Regions from separate parts of the Homo sapiens genome. Here regions 1, 2, 3, 5, 6 and 7 are each linked to region 4. Evidence: promoter capture Hi-C in 16 types of primary human blood cells and fetal thymus (Javierre and others, 2016). All regions are on one chromosome and are shown on one strand. The core of a region is centred on a gene start or on the middle of the fragment in contact, and the rest is flanking DNA. Distances in the headings are between cores, read along the strand shown.

Region 1 (2,751 bases), core at 236-2,735, 290 kb before region 4:
TGTTAAATGGAGGAAATAGGTGTGTGTCTTCAAAAATCTGGGTGCTGGGAAGATGGTGGCCCCATTCATGGAAATAGGGAAGTTGGGAGGAAGAGCATGTTTGCCTGTGAATGCGTCAAGTTTGGGATTTCAGTGAAATATGGTGGGTATAACGTCTTGGAGGTAGGTGAAATCTTGTCTAGAGAGAATTTGAGACTGGGAATGTGGATAGACATGCAGGGATAATAGTAGAAGTTGTGGAAGGGGTGAGATCACCAAGAAAAACTACATAGAGAGAAAAAGAGCACTGGAAACCTTTAGGGAAAACCCAATTTTAGAGCACAGGAGAAAGAAGGGGAAGTGATAAGATCCTGAATTAATGGTTTGAGTAGTAGGAGAAACTGGAGCGTGCAGTGCAGTGTAGCATTTAAGAGAGGATTTCAGGAAGAAGTTGAGCAACACTGAGGACTGCAATTGAAAGCTCGAAGGAGGATGAGGACAGAAGAAAATGGGATTTAGTGATTAGAAGGAGATTGATAAGAGAGCGATTGATAGGGGTAAAAACTAGATTAATTATTAAACATTTGCTGAAGTATACAAAACAAATGACACAAAGATCACAGTTTTTCCTGTTAGGACAACTGCTCTGTGCTTTAATGTCAGGGAAATAATGCAACAGCAAGAGAAAATTATTCCATAATGGATTAAGCATTAAAACATTGCCGGCCGGGTTCACGCCTGTAATTACAGCAGTTTGGGAGGCCAAGGTGGGCGGTTCATGCGGTCAGGAGTTCGAGACCAGTCTGGCCAACATAGTGAAACCCCGTCTCTACTAAAAATACAAAACATTAGCCGGGTGTGGTGGTGTGTGCCTGTAATCCCAGCTACCTAGGAGGCTGAGGCAGGAGAATCACATGAACCTGGGAGGCGTAGGTTGCAGTGAGCCGAGATGGTGCCATTGCACTCCTGCCTGGGCGAGAGGGTGAAACTCTGTCTCAAACACACACACACACACACACACACACACACACACACACACACACACTTGCCATTTGGGGAGGTTACCTGAGTCTTTCTCACACATGCTAATGTAAACCCTTCTTTGAGATAATGGAGTGGCTGGTCTTCACACTTGCTATTCACACTTTTTAATACAAGGGAATAGCAACCAGGTATCACTAGGCACCAGAAGTGGTGGATGTCTGGAGTAGATCAGGAAACATAGCAGAGAAGATTCCACTTCAAAGGGTTTAGTATGAAGCTACTTTAGTCATTGATTTTTCTGTCTTGGAGTGCCAATTTCTCCTCCTGACTTGTACACTTCTCTTTTTTAAAAAATTTTTGTCTTTCTTTTTTTTCTTTAGTTCTTCTGAAACAAAAAAAAGGGATACATGTGCAGAACGCGCAAGTTTGTTACATAGGTATACACGTGCCATGGTGATTTGCTGCATCTATTGACCTGTCCTCTAAGTTCCCTCCCCTCACCCCTCACCCGCTATCCCTCAACAGACCCTGATGTGTGCTGTTCTCCTCTCTCTGTCCATGTATTCTCATTGTTCAACTCCCACTTATGAGTGAGAACATGCGGTGTTTGGTTTTCTGTTCCTGTGTCAGTTTGCTGAGGATGATGGCTTCCAGCTTCATCCATGTCCCTGCAAAGGATATGATCTCATTCCTTTTTATGGCTGCATAGTATTCCATGGCATATACCACATTCTTTATCCAGTCTATCATTGATGGGCATTTGGGTTGGTGTCACTTCTCTTTGGACTCCAAGCATTTGTCTTTGATGGTGTTTTTGAGTGGTTACAGATGAAACAATGGGACTATCGCTACAAAATTGTATGACAAACCTTCCTCTTGCCTTCTTCAGTAGAATTAACTAGCTGATGATTATGGAAACAAAAGAAGATTGCAACAATAATATATTTTATTTCTTTTTTTAAAAGTTATTATTTTTTAGTGACAGGATTTTGCTATGTTTCCCAGGCTAGCCTCCAACTCTTGGACTCAAGCAGTCCTCCTGTCTCAGCCTGCTAGTAGTTGGAACTAGCGACATGCCCACGATATATTTTATTTCTGTATTGCTTTGTACCTCTCAAAGCCATTTGCATGCATGCCCCCTTTTGACCTCAAATCAGTCCTGTGGGGATAGAGAGAGATCTTTTGGGTAGGAATAAATACACAGAGAGAATATATAATCTGTTTATTGAAGTTCACCACCATTGTAAATACTGTCTTCTATTTTAAGACTATTTTTCTTCTTTGGATTGAAGACATGTAGATAGACAATATTGCTACACTATTTTTTTTTTACAACCTTAAGTGCTGATAGAGATCAGATAATTAGATAAACAATCCCTGATATATGTAAGAGTAAACACTCCACATGGATACTATATGTAAAAAAATAAACAATGGAAACATCATTGAGATAAAATTAGATAATTATTTTTATTTATTGAAATTAACACTGAAAGTGGAATGTTCCAACACTGTTAGGGATTACAGTGAGACAGTTTGACTTTATCTTATTCCTGAAGATGTTTTCACTCTTTCAATTTGACAACTCTTCTATAAAAGCCTTTACCTGGTGGATTAACAGTTTGAGGTATTTAGAGTTAAAGAAGCGTTGTTCAAGAGATTGGAGATAAAAGCAGGGGCGGGGGGAGTTAAAGAGGAGGAGACTCATTTATTCATGAATTCTTTCATTCATCCATTCCTTTAACATTTATTGATACCACTATGAGTTATGTACTAGATATTGTACTA
Region 2 (2,700 bases), core at 49-2,548, 400 kb before region 4:
GATTAAATCATCCTATTTTTTTAAAAAATCCTTTATGCAAATAAACAAATAGCAGAATTATAAAACATGTTTACGTTTTAAGATACAAATTTTTCTCTTTTTAAAACAAGCTATGAAACGAGAAAACTAAATTACTGTCATTAAAACTCTCAGTTTTTAGAATTATGAGTCTTACAGAAACAAATTGTTAGGTAAATTACCAAAACTTATATGCGTTTTTGATGAACAGAGCACTACTTTATAAAGGAATCTGCAATACTAGCATTTTCCAGCAGTTTTTATGAAATCAGTTACTTGACAAATTTAGGGGAAGAGAAAGAAGGAGGCAGAAGTTTCATGAATATTTTCTCAATGGGATAATGATCTTATTATGTTCCTCATGGCTCATTTGCCGCATCCTTATATTGGCATGAATTGCAAAGAAAGTTTACCAAGGTATATTTGCAGGTTTCACTTCATATTCCTGAAAAGTAAATTTAAAGTCTGAAGAGGAAAAACTGATATGTGGAATCAATGTTTTGTATATTTGGAATATAAACATGAACTTTTTTCTTTTTGAGATGATGGAGTCTTGCTCTGTTGCCCAGGCTGGAGTGCAGTGGCATGATCTTGGCTCACTGCAACCTCCACCTCCCGGGTTCAAGCGATTCTCCTGCCTCAGCCTCCCAAGTAGCTGGGATTACAGATGCCCGCCACCATGCCCGGCTAATTTTGTATTTTTAGAAGAGACAGGGTTTCGCCATGTTGGCGAGACTGGTTTCAAACTCCTGACCTCAGGTGATCTACCTGCCTAGACCTCCCAAAGTGCTGGGATTACAGGCATGAGCCACCATGCCCAGCCAAACATGAACTTCTAAAAGGCCAAATTCTTTATGGTATTACATAATCTATAAATTTAACATTTTAAAAGTTTACAAGATGCCCTCAAAGCTGAACATATTTCTGAGAAAAAAGGAATATTCAAGAGAATGAGAAGACAAGGGATAAACTGGGAGAAAAAATATTTGCAAAAGACGTATCTGATAAAGAACTGTTATAAAAAAAAAGAGAGAGAGAGCTCTTAAAATTCTTTAAAACAAAAATGAACATGATTTTAAAAATAGGCAAAAGACCTGAAAAGATACCTCACTAAAGAAGACAGCTAGTAAATAAGCATATAAAAAGATGTTCAACATTATTTGTCATTAGGGAATTACAAGTAAAATGAGATACCACTACACACCTATCAGAATGGCCAAAATCCAAAACACTAACACCACCAAATGCTGCCAAGGATGTGGAACAATAGGAACTCTCATTCATTGCTAGTGGGAATATAAAATGGTACAGTCACTTTGGAAGACAGTTTTGGCAGTTTTTTACAAAACTAAATGTACTCTTACCATACAATTCAATTCAGCAATTGTGCTCCTTGGTATTTACCCAAATGAGTTGAAAACTGATGCCTACAAAGACATGCACATGGATGTTTATAGCAACCTTATTCATGAGTGCCAAAACTTGGAAGCAACAAAGACGTCACCCAGTAAGTAATAAATAAACTATGGTGCATCCTGACAATGGAATATTATTCAGCACTAAAATGAAATGAGCTCTCAAGCCATGAAAAGACATGAAGGAACATTAAGTGTGTAATACTAAGTGAAAGAAGCCAATCTCAGAAAGATATTTAGTGTACAATTCTAACTACATGACACTGGAAAAGCCAAAACCATAAAGACGATAAAAAGATCAGTAGTTGCCAGGGGTTAAGAAGGAGGAATGAATAGGCAGAGCACGGAGGATTTAAGGGCTGTGAAACTATTCTGTATGATAAAACAATGGTGGATACATGTTATCACATATATTTGCCAATATGCATAGAATGTACAACACCGGCAAGGCATGGTGGCCCATGCCTGTAATCCCAGCACTTTGAGAGGCCAAGCGGGCAGATAAGGAGTTGAAGACCAGGCTGGCCAACATGGCAAAACCCTGTCTCTACTAAAAACACCAAAATTAGCTGGGTGCAGTGGTGGGCGCTTGTAATCCCAGCTACTCAGGAGGCTGAGAAAGGGAGAATTGCTTGAAACCAGAAAACGGAGGTTGCAGTAAACAGAGATCACACCACTATACTCCAGCCTGGGTGACACAGCAAGACTTCGTCTCAAAAAAAAAAAGTTGACACAACGGACATAGGGATTAAACAAAGAAGAGACCCGTGTAACCAACTAACATACATTAAACCAATTAGATTTCCTAACTGTCAATAAGAAATTTTTATAAAGCAGCTAGATGGGGGCTATTTTAACAAATCCAAATCCCAGCTGCTCTTCCATTTGCTCAAAATGCTACTCTTTATGCTTACATAAAGTGGTCCATGTTAAAACTGTATGAAATTAAGAGCTGGGTTAACTTCAACCTAGGCATATTTTAGTTTATACTTCTCTAGTTTTATTAAAGGATAACCCTTGCTAGCAGCTTTTTGAAGAAACAGAACTGATCATGATACCTCTTTTAGAGTCTGAGTATCATCCCTGGAACAAAACTGGAAATGAAAATGTTTATGTCAAATTGCAAGACTCCTAATATTTTTATGCTTCCTGTGGGTAATAAGCTCTTTCTCAGAGAGTGCTATTTGTGTCTAATGTATTTAAGCAATCACCATATCTTTTAACTATTAACAACCTGGGAAAAATAGAAATTGTCTTAAGCTCATGG
Region 3 (2,700 bases), core at 13-2,512, 420 kb before region 4:
TATTATTTCTTTCATCACATCCAATGCAAAAATTTAAAAATTCTGCTTTTAGATGACATGGATCTCATTCATGAAACATTTTGAATTGAAAGAAGATTTATGTTAAGATGTAATCATAGCATGCACTTGTTTAAAGGATATAGGAATCTGAAGGAGTGCAGCTTCTTCATGGTTTCTGAGTACAAAGATTCTTTCCAAGTAATGTTTTATCCCAAATTATGCATTAACAGTGTCCAGCAGTATGTATGTTTTGAATAAATTTTATAAATATAAATAACAAAACTGGCTTTAGAAATCTATATACTGATTTTTCATTTCAAATACATTTGTGAACTAGCCCATGATACTGTACCCTCTAGCAATTTTTAAAAAGGCATCTATTGATTATAATTTAGGAATTAAGTATGGCTCCGGTTTTTAAGAATCAAGTTGAAATTTCCAGGTCTACTATCAGTCTCTACAGAGACCTTCATATTAATCGCAAAATAGTGCTTTGAAGCATTTTGAACTACCTGGGATGCTGGAAGAACTGGATCCCGATTTAATGCTGGAGCTGGATAAGGAAGTCCAATCATAGGCTGACTCTGTCCTCTTCAAGGCTTCTTGGTAGTTCATATAGAGCTGCTTCCCATACTAAAGAGAAGACAGGAAATGGTGACATCTAAACTTTACTGAGTATGATACAGAAGGATAAGGTGAAATGGGGGACATATTTCTGTTTACTGATTGATGGTCTGTATTAAAATTAATACCTATGATAGTTCAAAAATTCCTCTAATACCATAAATTATAATCTATTCTTATTTCTCCTCATTTTTAGAGGGGCAGCAAGAAGTCAACACTTGATTCTGTTTGTTATAAACATTAATGTTTTTTCACCCCAAATTCTTGATCCAAGGGCAGCTTTTTAGCACTCTTCAGGATACTGCTCCAAATGTGGTTGGTAAATGATCATTACTTAAAGTAATTTAATTTTTCCAAAACTTACTTTGCTTAGGCTAAACTCTACTATTTAAGAATCATATAATGCATTCTCCAAAGCCAAAATAAATCACTTTGATACTACACAAGCTTTTACCAGCAATATTATTCCAAGTATACCAAATGTTAAAAGTTTATCCCTATAAACAAGGAAAAAAGACAACATTTAAAACTTGAAACTTAGGCCTGAAAAACGTAGGCACTGGCAAATCCATGAACATGAAATAGTCAGAATAGTTGTCATGAAAACGAAAACTATATCATCGACAAACACCTCATTATTCCATCATCAAATCAAAAGGAGACATGCCTTTGCAATGCGGATCCCATTGACCCACTGATGCAGTGTCCTCACATCATCACAACAAAGGTATTTGATATATTGAGATTTCTTCTGGATTTGTGGATGCTGCAAGATTAAAGACAAAATCCAACTAAGTCCCTTGGAGAACTAAAGAAAAACAAACTTTATCAAAGCTTAAACATATCCTGACAAGTTATAGGCCATTAGAGTAATGGCCAATACATTTATGCTTCTTATATGGCCATAAGGCCAAATAAAGTAGCCCATAAGAATTTTTACAAAGTAAATGAGAAAGAAACTTTTGTGAAATTTTAGATCAAGATATCCAAGTTAAAATAGATCTTCACATCTTGAGAAATTCCCAAACGTTCCTTCTACATTTCAAAGAAACAAAGTTCATCAAGGTTAACAGAGTCCATAGAATTCTCCATCTATAAGATTATGGAAAAGGAAGAGAATGTTTAATTTCACTTTCAACCCACTGAAATTATGGGTGCAGAAGACTCCAAATCAGAGAGGGACTTTGACAAAGCTTCAGTGTCTAGAGGTGAGGTGAATTACTGGGCTGGGTACACCAAGCCTATGGCACAGCACCTGGGACAAGAATCTACAGTCACACCTGTCACAGGGAAGTACAGCCCTGTAGGTCCCACTCTCTACCAAACTGCAGGGCTGCAGCACTTGCCTCCAGGGGACACATAGATGTCAACAGCATCTTCACATTTAGTTTTCACAACCCACTGTACTTTTCAGTTGAGGCTTGGATGAGAGGTGACTGACTGAACCTTGGCTACAAAATCCAGGTGTTAGGAATATGTTTAAGAAATTTTAACACCACTGAGCCTCAACCAGTAGGTCCTTGGAAAGAAAAGCCCTAAATCACACTTGTTCTGAATGTAATGACTTATGAACACCACATCTCTTTTCAACTATTCTGAAAACCAAAAAACTAATGGCTATAATTTGCCTGGAAAAAATTTTAAATTTGTGTTCAGTTATAAGAAAGAAAAAGGCCAGATATGGTGGCTCATGCCTGTAAACCCAGCACTTTGGGAGGCCGAGGCGGGTGGATCAAGGAGTCAGGAGTTCGAGACCAACCTGACCAACACGGTGAAACCCCGTCTCTATTAAAAATACAAAAATTAGTTGGACGTGGTGGTGCATGCCTGTAATCCCAGCTACTCAGGAGGCTGACACAGGAGAATCGCTTAAACCCAGGAGGCAGAGGTTGCAGTGAGCCAAGATCGTGCCACCGCACTCCAGCCTGGGTAACAGAGCGAGACTTCGTCTCCAAAAAAAAAAAAAAACAAAGAAAGAAAGAAAAAAAGCTTTAAAAGAATTTAGTTTTCCAAAATTCCCCAATCATAGTCATTTGTTGTGAAAATCCATGAGCTCAATAAAATAAGCAATTTAAA
Region 4 (2,700 bases), core at 119-2,618:
GGTCAGAAAAGGCTTCTGTGCATCACACCAACATGGCACATGTATACATATGTAACAAATCTGCATGTTGTGCACATGTACCCTAAAACTTAAAGTATAATAATAATAAAATTTTAAAAAAAAAAAGAAGAGGCTTCCTGGAGGAGATGACAGCTGAGCTAAGTCCTGGAGGATGAGAAGGAGTATAAAATAAGATAATAGGAGAAAAAAGGCAGTAGGAACAGCATGGGTAAAGGTGATGAGGCCTGAAAGAGGCACGTGGAAGGAAAGACAAATGCAGGAAGGGGGAATGGGAGGGAATGCTGGGGTACAGGCCAAAGAGGGAGGCATTTGGTGAGTATTCTGCAGAGTCTCCTCTGCTGTGCTGAGGTGTGGACAATGGGAAACCATGGACGGACTGGAGTAGGCAAATGTCATATTCCCTGTTACAACTGTCTGTTTGCATGTCAGCCTTCTAGAAGCCCCTTAAGGTATCAACTATGTTTTTGTTTTGTCATCATTCAATCCTAAGTGCACAGAATTCCGGGCATATTACAGGTTCCCCATGAATGTTTCTTTCTTTATTAAAATGTATGAAAACTCTCCAGATTTAAGGAAGGTCCTCAATGTTTCAAATTCTTTTTGTTAGATCATTGGTCCTGTCTACAGCTGTCACAAATTTAAGGACTCTGGTTATATTTAATCTTCACTTTTGAATTTTCTGCTTGAAAAATTTGTATTAGAAAAAAAAGTCTATCCTTTTATGGACGGCTCTAATCTCTTGAATCATTTGGGTTGGCTTTTCTTTGGACCTTCTTCAACTCTGTTTTGTCTCTGTTGAGTTAAGGCTTTTAAGAACACCTGAATTCTTTCCTTCTGCAAAACCAGAGGCAGCTTCTTTTCCGCCTATTTTCAGTTTATTTCTTGTGATTTTAGTTTTTTTCTCTTAACCAAATGCTAAATGGATTTAGGAGAAATAAACTTATTTGTAAAGCTGTCAAGGGACCATTAGAAGGATGGTGCTTCACAGATAGAATACAGTTTTTATTAATGATGCCTAGACAAATCCTGCCATTAGCCCAAGGGCTCAGAAAGTTAGCAGCCTAGTAGTTTTGGAGTTGTCAATGAAATGAATTGGACTGGATGGTTAAGGATGCCCAGAAGATTGAATAAAATTGGGATTTAGGAGGACCCTTGTACTCCAGGAAATTCTCCAAGTCTCCACTTAGTTATCCAGATCCTCAAAGTGAACATGAAGCTTCAGTTTCAAATTGAATACATTTTCCATCCATGGATTGGCTTGTTTTGTTCAGTTGAGTGCTTGAGGTTGTCTTTTCGACGTAACAGCTAAACCCACGGCTTCCTTTCTCGTAAAACCAAAACAAAAAGGCTTTCTATTCAAGTGCCTTCTGTGTGTGCACATGTGTAATACATATCTGGGATCAAAGCTATCTATATAAAGTCCTTGATTCTGTGTGGGTTCAAACACATTTCAAAGCTTCAGGATCCTGAAAGGTTTTGCTCTACTTCCTGAAGACCTGAACACCGCTCCCATAAAGCCATGGCTTGCCTTGGATTTCAGCGGCACAAGGCTCAGCTGAACCTGGCTACCAGGACCTGGCCCTGCACTCTCCTGTTTTTTCTTCTCTTCATCCCTGTCTTCTGCAAAGGTGAGTGAGACTTTTGGAGCATGAAGATGGAGGAGGTGTTTCTCCTACCTGGGTTTCATTTGTTTCAGCAGTCAAAGGCAGTGATTTATAGCAAAGCCAGAAGTTAAAGGTAAAACTCCAATCTGGCTTGGCTGGCTCTGTATTCCAGGGCCAGCAGGGAGCAGTTGGGCGGCAGCAAATAAGGCAAAGAGATAGCTCAGAACAGAGCGCCAGGTATTTAGTAGGGGCTTCATGAATGCATGTGAGTTGGTTTAGTAGAGAGACACAGGCAATTTCAGACCCTTCTATGAGACTGGAAGTGATTTAAGAGGGAAAGGATAGCCATAGTCCTGAATACATTTGAGCTGGGTTTCAGGATGAGCTCACAAGTTCCTTTAAAAAAAATTGACTTAAGCAAATCCTGGGAAGAGTTTTTTTGCTATACAATTCAAGGTTTTAAGGTCCTCGGATTCATATACTTTATAAATGAATTAGCCAGCTTGTTTAAAATGTAGGGAAATTGTGGGAAGAATGCCTTCTTTACTTAATTCAAGGTTTTAAGGTTCTCTTAATCAATTCTACTAGCTAATTAGCCAATTATTTAAAAATAAAAGTTTGAAATTGCCAAAAAAAAAAGACAAGGAAAAGGAAAGAAAGAAAGCCACCAGTCTGTTTGGCATACAATACTTAATTGTTGCCTGACCTACGTGTGGGTTTCAGATGCAGATCCTCAGTTTTCAGCTCTTCAGAGACTGACACCAGGTTTGTTACACGGCTTAAAATGATGAGTATATCCATTGAATCTCAACCTTATCTCTCTCTAGACCTTCTTGGTTAAGAAACCATGTAGTTTGTATGAAGTAGGTACTCAAAAGATATTTGATGATTTAATTTTTACTGGAGAAGAAATATTCATATATGTTTTCTTATTTTTACATGTTTTAAATATGTAAAGATTAAATAAACACTCTTAGAAGTATTTAAATTTCCTAAAGTAAATTTATCTCAACCAGTAACAGGACCCTCCCAATACTGGAAAGTTGAGTGTGACCGCATTTAGTGGTGATGAGTG
Region 5 (2,700 bases), core at 194-2,693, 360 kb before region 4:
GGCCTGGAGACATTTTCCCTGGTCTTGGGGATTAACATTAGGCTCCTTGCTATTTATGCAAATTTCTGCAGCTGGATTGAATTTCTCCTAAAAAAAAAAAAAAAGTTTGTCTTTTCTACTGCATCATCAGGCAGAAAATTTCCTGAACTTTTATGCTGTTTCTCCTTTAAAACAGAATGCTTTTAATAGCACCCAAGTCACCTTTTGAATGGTTTGCTGCTTTGAAATTTCTTCCATCAGATACCCTAAATCATCTCTCTCAATTTCAAAGTTCTACAAATCTCTAGCGCAGGGGCAAAATGCCGCCAGTGTCTTTGCTAAAACATAATGAGAGTCACCTTTGCTCCAGTTCCCAACAAGTTCCTCATCTCCATCTGAGACCACCTCAGCTTGGATCTTATTGTTCATATCACTATCAGCATTTTTGTCAAAGCCATTCAACAAGTCTCCAGACAGTTTCACACTTTCCTACATTTTCCTGTCTTCTTCTGAGCCCTCCAAACTGTTCCAGCCTCTGCCTGTTACCCAGTTCCAAAGACACTTCTACGTTTTTGGGTATCTTTTCAGCAACGCCACACTCTACTGGTACCAATTTACTGCATTAGTCCATTTTCAGGCTGCTGATGAAGACAAACCTGAGATTGGGAAGAAAAAGAGGTTTAATTGGACTCACAGTTCCACATGGCTGGGGAGGCCTCAGAATCATGGTGGGAGGCAAAAGGCACTTCTTACATGGCGGTGGCAAGAGAAAATGTGGAAGAAGCAAAAGTGGAAACCCCTGATAAACCCATCAAATCTCATGAGACTTATTCACTATCACAAGACTAGCACAAGAAAGACTGGCCGCCATGATTAAATTACCCCCCCCGGGTCCCTCCCACAACACAGAGGAATTCTGAGAGATACAACTGAAGTTGAGATTTGGGTGGGGACACAGCCAAACCATATCACTAAAGTGGAAAAATACAATTTAGTTCAACGCTCTACAAAGAAACCCCTAACATCCCTATATATAAAAAGTTCTGATTATCTTATAATTAACTATTACACAATATGCCATAAAGCATTATCTGAAACCACAGAGTAGATAAAAAACTATAAAAACTGAAAAACAACAAATAATTGATTGTGTTGTTTATATTCCAGATTCTCAATTTCAAGAGCTGTGAGACAGTAAATTTCTGTTGCTTTAAGCCACTCAGCGTGTAGTAATTTGTTACTGCAGCCCTAGCAAATGAATAGTTACTATACACACACGCGCGCGCACGCACACACACACACGGCTGCTCCACACTTCAGACCTTTTGCTGTTATACTACATAGTGTAGCTATTTAGTTATTTTTGCAGACAGCTGATGTTGTGCATGTCCACTCCAGCCTCAACTAGAAGTAGAAGCTGCAACTTCATTCCTCTTAGAGAAAACGGTCTTGAAACTATGGAAAGCCTCACGAGGGAGGCAGCAGTATTTTTCTTCACTTTTGTCCTACCTATTCCCCTACCAGATGGCCAAACGCACTGGCAAGAAATCCAATCCCAGAGGCAACCCATGCTTTGAGAGGAAAGGGGGTAACAAATAGACGTAGCCTATAGCTTGGAAGTCATTTGGATTAGGTATTGAATTATCAGTATAAATAAACTCAAGGTTTCAAACAGACAAAAAGATGGGCAGAAATAAAGACAGAGATGTGTGTATTATGTGTTTGTAGGTATGTCCACTGAAAAAGCCTGGTGGCAATGACACCAGGTAATTAATTAGCACACTTGGTTCCCAGTTTTTGGTTTCAAAATACTGTATACACTCTACACAAAAAGTAACAGACACCTGGAGTAGTAATTCCAGGGCAGGGCAGGGAAAAAAAACAAGATGAGATCTTGCAGTGAGCAGAGATCGTGCCACTGCACACTCCAGCCTGGGCAACAGAGCGAGACTCCGTCTCAAAAAAAAACAAAAAACAAAAAACAAAAAACAAGATGAGCCTCTAGAACATCATCTAGTGGCAAAAAGTCCTCAATTAATGATAGGCACATGTCAAATGGACACAGGAACCAGCCTGAAGGCCCAGATCAGGGGTCTAATCTGTGAAAAGTTAAATACTGAAATAAATTATGATAGAAACAAATTATAATCCACTGACTAAAATCCATATATAGATATATATCTATATATATATATATCTATATATATATCTATATATATCTAGATATATATATCTATATATATATCTATATCTATATATCTATATATATATCTATATCTATATATCTATCTATATCTATATATATATATATATATATATAGATATATATATATATATATTTTTTTTTTTTTTGAGATGAACTTTCACTCTGGGTTGCCCAGGCTGGAGTGCAATGGCACAATCTCAACTCATTGCAACCTCCACCTCCCAGGTTCAAGCGATTCTCCTGCCCCAGACTCCCAAGTAGCTGGGATTACAGGCGCCTGCCACCACACCCGGCTAATTTTTTTATTTTTAGTAGAGACAGGGTTTCACCATGTTGACCAGGCTGGTCTTGAACTCCTGACCTCAGGTGATACGCCCACCTCGGCCTCCCAAAGTGCTGGGATTACAGGTGTGTGCCACCGTGCCTGGCCACAAAATCCATATTGAATTAAATAAAATATACACAGTAAAGAAGAAAGCTCTTACTTACTGTAGAATGCCAACTACTTAATGTAG
Region 6 (2,700 bases), core at 116-2,615, 380 kb before region 4:
AGAATCTTCTCCAGAGAAGCTCACCAGCCTAGGAAAAAAAACCTAAGGATAATCCTGAAGACTACAAAAAAAAAAAAAAGAAAGAAAAGAAATAAATAGAATTTTAAGAAGATGCAATTAATGGAACGCTAATTTGGCTTGAACCAGAGAGATTTAATCAACTGGGAGAAAGTCTGAAGTTGAAACAGTGATCACCATATAGAAAATTAAATATTTTTAAACATATATTCATTCCAGTAAAAGTAAAATGATATTCCAGAAAGGGGATGTAGTCACAAGAGTATATGGAGGTTAGCAGTAAATTTCAAGTATATAGTCATTTTAATATAAACACTGAATATGAGCTCAATCAAAATATATTTGGAGAATGGAAAAACAGGAAGGGAGAAGTGAGAAGAAGCTGTATATAGACAGCTATACCCTCCATCTTCTGGAGTAGAGTGAGAAGTCAATAGGTAATACATACCACTAAAAAGAAAATCAAGAAATGGCAATGTGTATGTAGACTTAATGATAAAGAGGTAAAGTCCCTAAGAATCAGCTAAATGAGCAAAAATTGCTTACCTCTGGAAGCAGAATATGATGTGTATGTGAGTAGAGGATAGTTTTCCGTAACATATCTCATAGAACTATTTAACGCCATGCATGAAAAACTAAAATATTTTTAAAACTGTATTTGCACTTAAAGACAATTTGATACATGAGTTCAGGATATATTAAGCTTGCCTCAGTTTACTTTATTTGAATCAGAACAGACTAGACCTAGGAAAAAAGCAAATGGAAGCAAGTTCCGGGTTTGTTAAACCACCTTTCTATACTCCTAGGTGAGGCAAAAGAACAGGCTAGCTAGATAAGGCTTTTTAACTCCTTTCCCTGCTATAGTCCTGGTTTACTCACCAAACCTTACATTAAACTCTTATATTAAACATTATACCATTGAGCACTGGTATCTTTGCAGTATTCACAGTGATACCCATGGATACCACTAGATACCATTTGAAGTGCGCTTGCTGGGAGAGAGGAACTTTTCACGTTTTACTTCAATTTGCCCCTATACTGTATGAACTTTTATAATGAGCACATTTTACAGACAGAAAGACATGCATACGGTATTAGAAGATCCTTAATGATTAGTTTATAACTTGTCCCTCACGCATCTTAATCCAACTCAAAATACTGTAAACTGATTGGAAGGAATATCAACATACAAAACAAAGAATGGCCAAGAAAGCACATCCCTAATAAAATATTGCTCATATCCTAGCAGGTAAATCTAAAGGACATGAAATGATACATATTAAGTAGCTGGTGGCTAAATATAATTCCCAGGTATCACAAAATAGAAATCAGTTTTTTTTTTCCTTTTTTTTTTGTAGACGGAGTCTTGCTGTTGCCAGGCTGGAGTGCAGTGGCACGATCTTGGCTCACTGCAACCTCCGACTCCCTGGTTCAAGCGATTCTCCTACCTCACCCTCCCGAGCAGCTGGGATTACAGGCATGCGCCACCACATCCAACTAATTTTTTTTTGTATTTTTAGTAGAGACAGGGTTTCACCATGTTGGCCAGGGTGGTCTCAAACTCCTGACCTCAGGTGATCCGCCCGCCTCGGCCTCCCAAAGTGTTGGGATTACAGGTGTGAGCCACCACGTCCGGCCTAGAAATCAGTTTTCAAGTTCTCTATAGAATATATACCACTTAGATAAGTTTCATTTTAAATAAATGAAAGTTTATTCTTCAGATTGATAAGATTCGCTTTCTTTGAAATAACTCAAGTTTATCTCCAAACCACCATGATTCATACTCCTTTTGTGCTCCACAGTACCAAAAACAAAGCTACGCACATGGGTGGGTACCAAGAGTTACCTACTGATGGAAATTAATCCAAAGAATTAAATAAGTTACGAAAAAAAAATCAATGATGTCAAGTAATAGTTAAAATTCAAGATTTTACTTTAGTACTGATTATTCATAAATAGATTCTTTTATCCCATATTAGAATATTGTCAACACAAGCTTATTGGAAAGGTTGACTTAACTTTGCCCCATTTTTCTTCTTTCTTGCTGCTACCCTATGACAGAATTACCATCTCTTTGATGAAAACAACTCAATAAAGAATTCTCTTTCACCAAACTCAGCTTTTGTTGAACTTGTTACCGCAAATCTATTCCCTATCTTATCCAGTCACATGCTGAAAAAAATTCCATCTTTTAAAAATCTGTTCATGAATAACTTACGGTTCTCTGAACCACCCTATCAGGAAGGCAGATATAGTATTACGAACTCTGGCTGGGCGCAGTGGCTCACACCTGTAACCCCAGCACTTTGGGAAGTGGGCGGATCACAAGGTCAGGAGTTTGAGACCAGCCTGGCCAGCATGGTGAAACCCCGTCTCTACCAAAAATACAAAAATTAGCCAGGCATGGTGGCACACGCCTGTAATCCCAGCTACTCAGGAGGCTGAGGCAGGAGAATCACTTAACCCGGGAGGCAAGGTTGCAGTGAGCCAAGATCATGCCACTGCACTCCAGCCTGGGCGACAGAATGAGACTCCGTCTATTAAAAAAAAAAAAAAAAAAAAAAAAAAAAAACCTGTTTATGAACAACTTTTGTTCTCTGAACCACCCTATCAGGAAGGCAGATATAGTACTATGAACTCCATTTTACTTGTGAGAAATTGATGTTTAAGAGAATAACTCAC
Region 7 (2,700 bases), core at 117-2,616, 340 kb before region 4:
GAAATAGGACAGCATGCAGTGTTTATGTAATACATTGTAAGGCAACTGAAAAATATAAACATTGCTGTGTAAGCTCTAAATAAACGGACAGATATGCCATCTTAATAGATTAGAAGATGCAATATTATCAATGCCTATTCTCCCCCAAAATGAACTAGGTATTCAATGTAATTACAACCAATGTCCCAGTGGGCATTTTTTTACAGAAACTGACAAGAGTATTCTAAAATTTATATGGAAAAGCAAATGACCTAGACTAGCCAAAAGAACCTTGAAAAGGGTTGGGTGCAGTGGCTCACACCTGTAATCCCAGCAGTTTGGAAGGCTGAGGCAGGCGGATCACCTGAGGTCAGGAGTTCGAGACCAGCCTGGCCAACATCGTGAAACCTCATCTCTACTAAAACTACAAAAATTAGCCGAGCATGGTGGCGGGCACCTGTAATCCCAGCTACTCGGGAGGCTGAGGTGGGAGAATCGCTTGAACCTGGAAGATTGCAGTGAGCTGAGATCACGTTACTGCACTCTAGCCTGGGCAACAGAGCAAGACTCTGTCTCAAAAAAAAAAAAAAAAAAAAAGAAAAAGAAAAGAACCTTGAAAAGAGTAGGGGAGGAATGAATTTTACCTGATTTCAAGACTCACTATCCAGCTAAATAATCAAGACAATGTAGTACTGGCAAAAGGATAGAGAATCACATCAATGTAACAGAATGGAAAGTCCAGGAATAGACCCACACATAAAATGTCAAACAATTTTCAGTAAGGATGCCAGAGGTCAGGGGCGGTGGCTCACGCCTGTAATCCCAGCACTTTGGGAGGCCGAGGCGGGCGGATCATGGGGTCAGGAGATCAAGACCATCCTGGTTAACACGGTTAAACCCCGTCTCTATTAAAAATACAAAAAATTAGCTGGGCGTGGTGGCGGGCGCCTGTAGTCCCAGCTACTCGGGAGGCTGAGGCAGGAGAATGGCGTGAATACGGGGGGCGGAGCTTGCAGTGAGCTGAGATTGTGCCACTGCACTCTGGCCTGGGTGAAAGAGCGAGACTCTGTCTCAAAAAAAAAAAAAAACCACGTCAGAACTGAGGTAGGCAATGAGGAAAGTGTTTTTAACAAATGACACTGGCACAACTAGATATAAATGGGGCAGAGGGCTCGATATCACTCATAAACAAAAATTAATTCAAAATGGATTGTAGACTAAAATGTAAAAGCTAAAATTATAAACTCCAAGGAGAAAATATGGAAATATACTTTCTGAACTTTGGTGTAGGCAAAAATTTATTAGGGCACAAACGACACTAACCATAAAAGGAAAAATTGGTAATTTTGATGAAGCCCAATATAAAAACTTCTGCTCTTTGAAAAACACCATTAAAAAAATACACGGCCAGGAGCAGTGGCTCAGGCCTGTAATCCCAGCACTTTGGGAGGCCGAGGCAGGTGGATCACCAGGTCAGGAGACCGAGACCATCCTGGCTAACATGGTGAAACCCCATCTCTACTAAAAATACAAAGTTAGCTGGGTGTGGTGGCATGCGCCTGTAGTCCCAGCTACTCGGGAGGCTGGGGCAGGAGAATCCCTTGAACCTGGGAGGTGGAAGTTGCAGTGAGCCGAGATCACGCCACTGTACTCCAGCCTGGGCAACAGAGCGAGACTCTGTCTCAAAAGTAAAAAATAAAAAAGACAAGCTAAGTTACAGACTAAGAGAAAATATTTGCAAATATATCCAATAAAGAACTTGTATCGAGTAAATAATTGTTAAACTAAATTTAAAAAATATATACAATCTTATTTTTTAAATGGGCAAAGACTTGCTGTCACTTCCCAAATGACTAAGAACATTACATTGCTCAACATCAATAATAATCAGCGAAAGGTGAATTAAAGCTACGGTTATATCATTACATACCCATTAAAATGGCTAGAATGAGAAAGACTGACAATACCAAGTCTTAGGATATACACCAAGTGTCATATTATGCTGTTGGATATAAAATGATACAACTTTGGAAAAATTTGCCCACTTTAAAAATTAAAGTTAAAAATACACCTACCCTATAACCCAACACGTCCTCATAGGTATTCATCCTCAAGAAATGAAAACCTGTCCACAATTGGAAACAGCCTAAATTTCTATCAAAGGTGCCTGGAAAAACGAAATGTGGCATATATGCATAATGGAATACTTTAGCAATAAAAAGGAACTAATCCAAGCAACAAGATCGAAGAATCTAAAAATTATTATTCTGCATGAAAACAAGCCAGACTTGGGTGGGTTAGGAGGGGAAGGGAACAAGACACTGTATGATTCCATTTATATAAAATTCTAGAAAATGCAAACCAATCCATAGTGACAGATTGCCGTAAGACAGGGGTAGAGGGGGACAAATTACAAAGAGGTATGAGGAAACTTTGGGAGATGATGGAAATGTTCAGTTTTGATTACAGTGATGATTTCATGGGTGTATTAAAACTTACCAAATTGTACACTTTAATATGTGCAGTTTATTATATAGAAATTATACCTCAGTAAGGCAATAAAAAATTTTTTAAAGAAACAAGCAACCTAAAAGACTTCATAGCAGAATTAGAATTAGAATTCACTTCTGATATATGCAATTTTCTGATTATGTATTGTTCTTCAATACAAAGTTTTTAAAAGGAGGAACATCTATCTAAATGGCCTAGCAATCCCACTCC

Evidence for each region. The method cuts DNA at HindIII sites, captures the fragments that hold promoters and counts their contacts. A CHiCAGO score of 5 or more calls a contact.
Region 1: a contact is called between a fragment that was not itself captured here and the fragment with the promoter of CTLA4 in region 4, in 2 of 17 cell types (monocytes and M1 macrophages). The highest score is 6.8, in monocytes.
Region 2: a fragment that was not itself captured here is called in contact with the fragment with the promoter of CTLA4 in region 4 in 7 of 17 cell types (naive CD4 T cells, M2 macrophages, monocytes and 4 more); the score reaches 6.9 in naive CD4 T cells.
Region 3: a fragment that was not itself captured here is called in contact with the fragment with the promoter of CTLA4 in region 4 in 1 of 17 cell types (M1 macrophages); the score reaches 5.2 in M1 macrophages.
Region 5: a fragment that was not itself captured here is called in contact with the fragment with the promoter of CTLA4 in region 4 in 2 of 17 cell types (monocytes and M1 macrophages); the score reaches 8.5 in monocytes.
Region 6: a fragment that was not itself captured here is called in contact with the fragment with the promoter of CTLA4 in region 4 in 12 of 17 cell types (naive CD4 T cells, total CD4 T cells, naive CD8 T cells and 9 more); the score reaches 22.4 in naive CD4 T cells.
Region 7: a fragment that was not itself captured here is called in contact with the fragment with the promoter of CTLA4 in region 4 in 1 of 17 cell types (monocytes); the score reaches 5.2 in monocytes.

What each region holds. Positions count from the first base shown.
Region 1 is chr2:203,575,698-203,578,448 of GRCh38, forward strand. No RefSeq gene overlaps it. Among named protein-coding and RNA genes, the nearest start is that of RAPH1, 42 kb to the left of the region's middle. The HindIII fragment of the contact is 4,941 bases long and covers 1-2,751 here.
Region 2 is chr2:203,463,730-203,466,429 of GRCh38, forward strand. All of the region lies in intron 4 of RAPH1 (Ras association (RalGDS/AF-6) and pleckstrin homology domains 1), which reads right to left. Among named protein-coding and RNA genes, the nearest start is that of RAPH1, 70 kb to the right of the region's middle. The HindIII fragment of the contact is 3,082 bases long and covers 1-2,700 here.
Region 3 is chr2:203,447,447-203,450,146 of GRCh38, forward strand. It overlaps RAPH1 (Ras association (RalGDS/AF-6) and pleckstrin homology domains 1), which reads right to left. Exons shown (of 14, transcript NM_213589.3): 11 at 1,292-1,390; 12 at 513-633. Among named protein-coding and RNA genes, the nearest start is that of RAPH1, 87 kb to the right of the region's middle. The HindIII fragment of the contact is 387 bases long and covers 1,070-1,456 here.
Region 4 is chr2:203,866,403-203,869,102 of GRCh38, forward strand. It overlaps CTLA4 (cytotoxic T-lymphocyte associated protein 4), which reads left to right and starts at 1,369. Exons shown (of 4, transcript NM_005214.5): 1 at 1,369-1,649. The coding sequence starts at 1,541. The HindIII fragment of the contact is 240 bases long and covers 1,236-1,475 here.
Region 5 is chr2:203,504,582-203,507,281 of GRCh38, forward strand. The region is part of intron 1 of RAPH1 (Ras association (RalGDS/AF-6) and pleckstrin homology domains 1); the gene reads right to left. Among named protein-coding and RNA genes, the nearest start is that of RAPH1, 29 kb to the right of the region's middle. The HindIII fragment of the contact is 7,823 bases long and covers 1-2,700 here.
Region 6 is chr2:203,486,029-203,488,728 of GRCh38, forward strand. All of the region lies in intron 4 of RAPH1 (Ras association (RalGDS/AF-6) and pleckstrin homology domains 1), which reads right to left. Among named protein-coding and RNA genes, the nearest start is that of RAPH1, 48 kb to the right of the region's middle. The HindIII fragment of the contact is 1,293 bases long and covers 720-2,012 here.
Region 7 is chr2:203,522,341-203,525,040 of GRCh38, forward strand. All of the region lies in intron 1 of RAPH1 (Ras association (RalGDS/AF-6) and pleckstrin homology domains 1), which reads right to left. Among named protein-coding and RNA genes, the nearest start is that of RAPH1, 12 kb to the right of the region's middle. The HindIII fragment of the contact is 7,464 bases long and covers 1-2,700 here.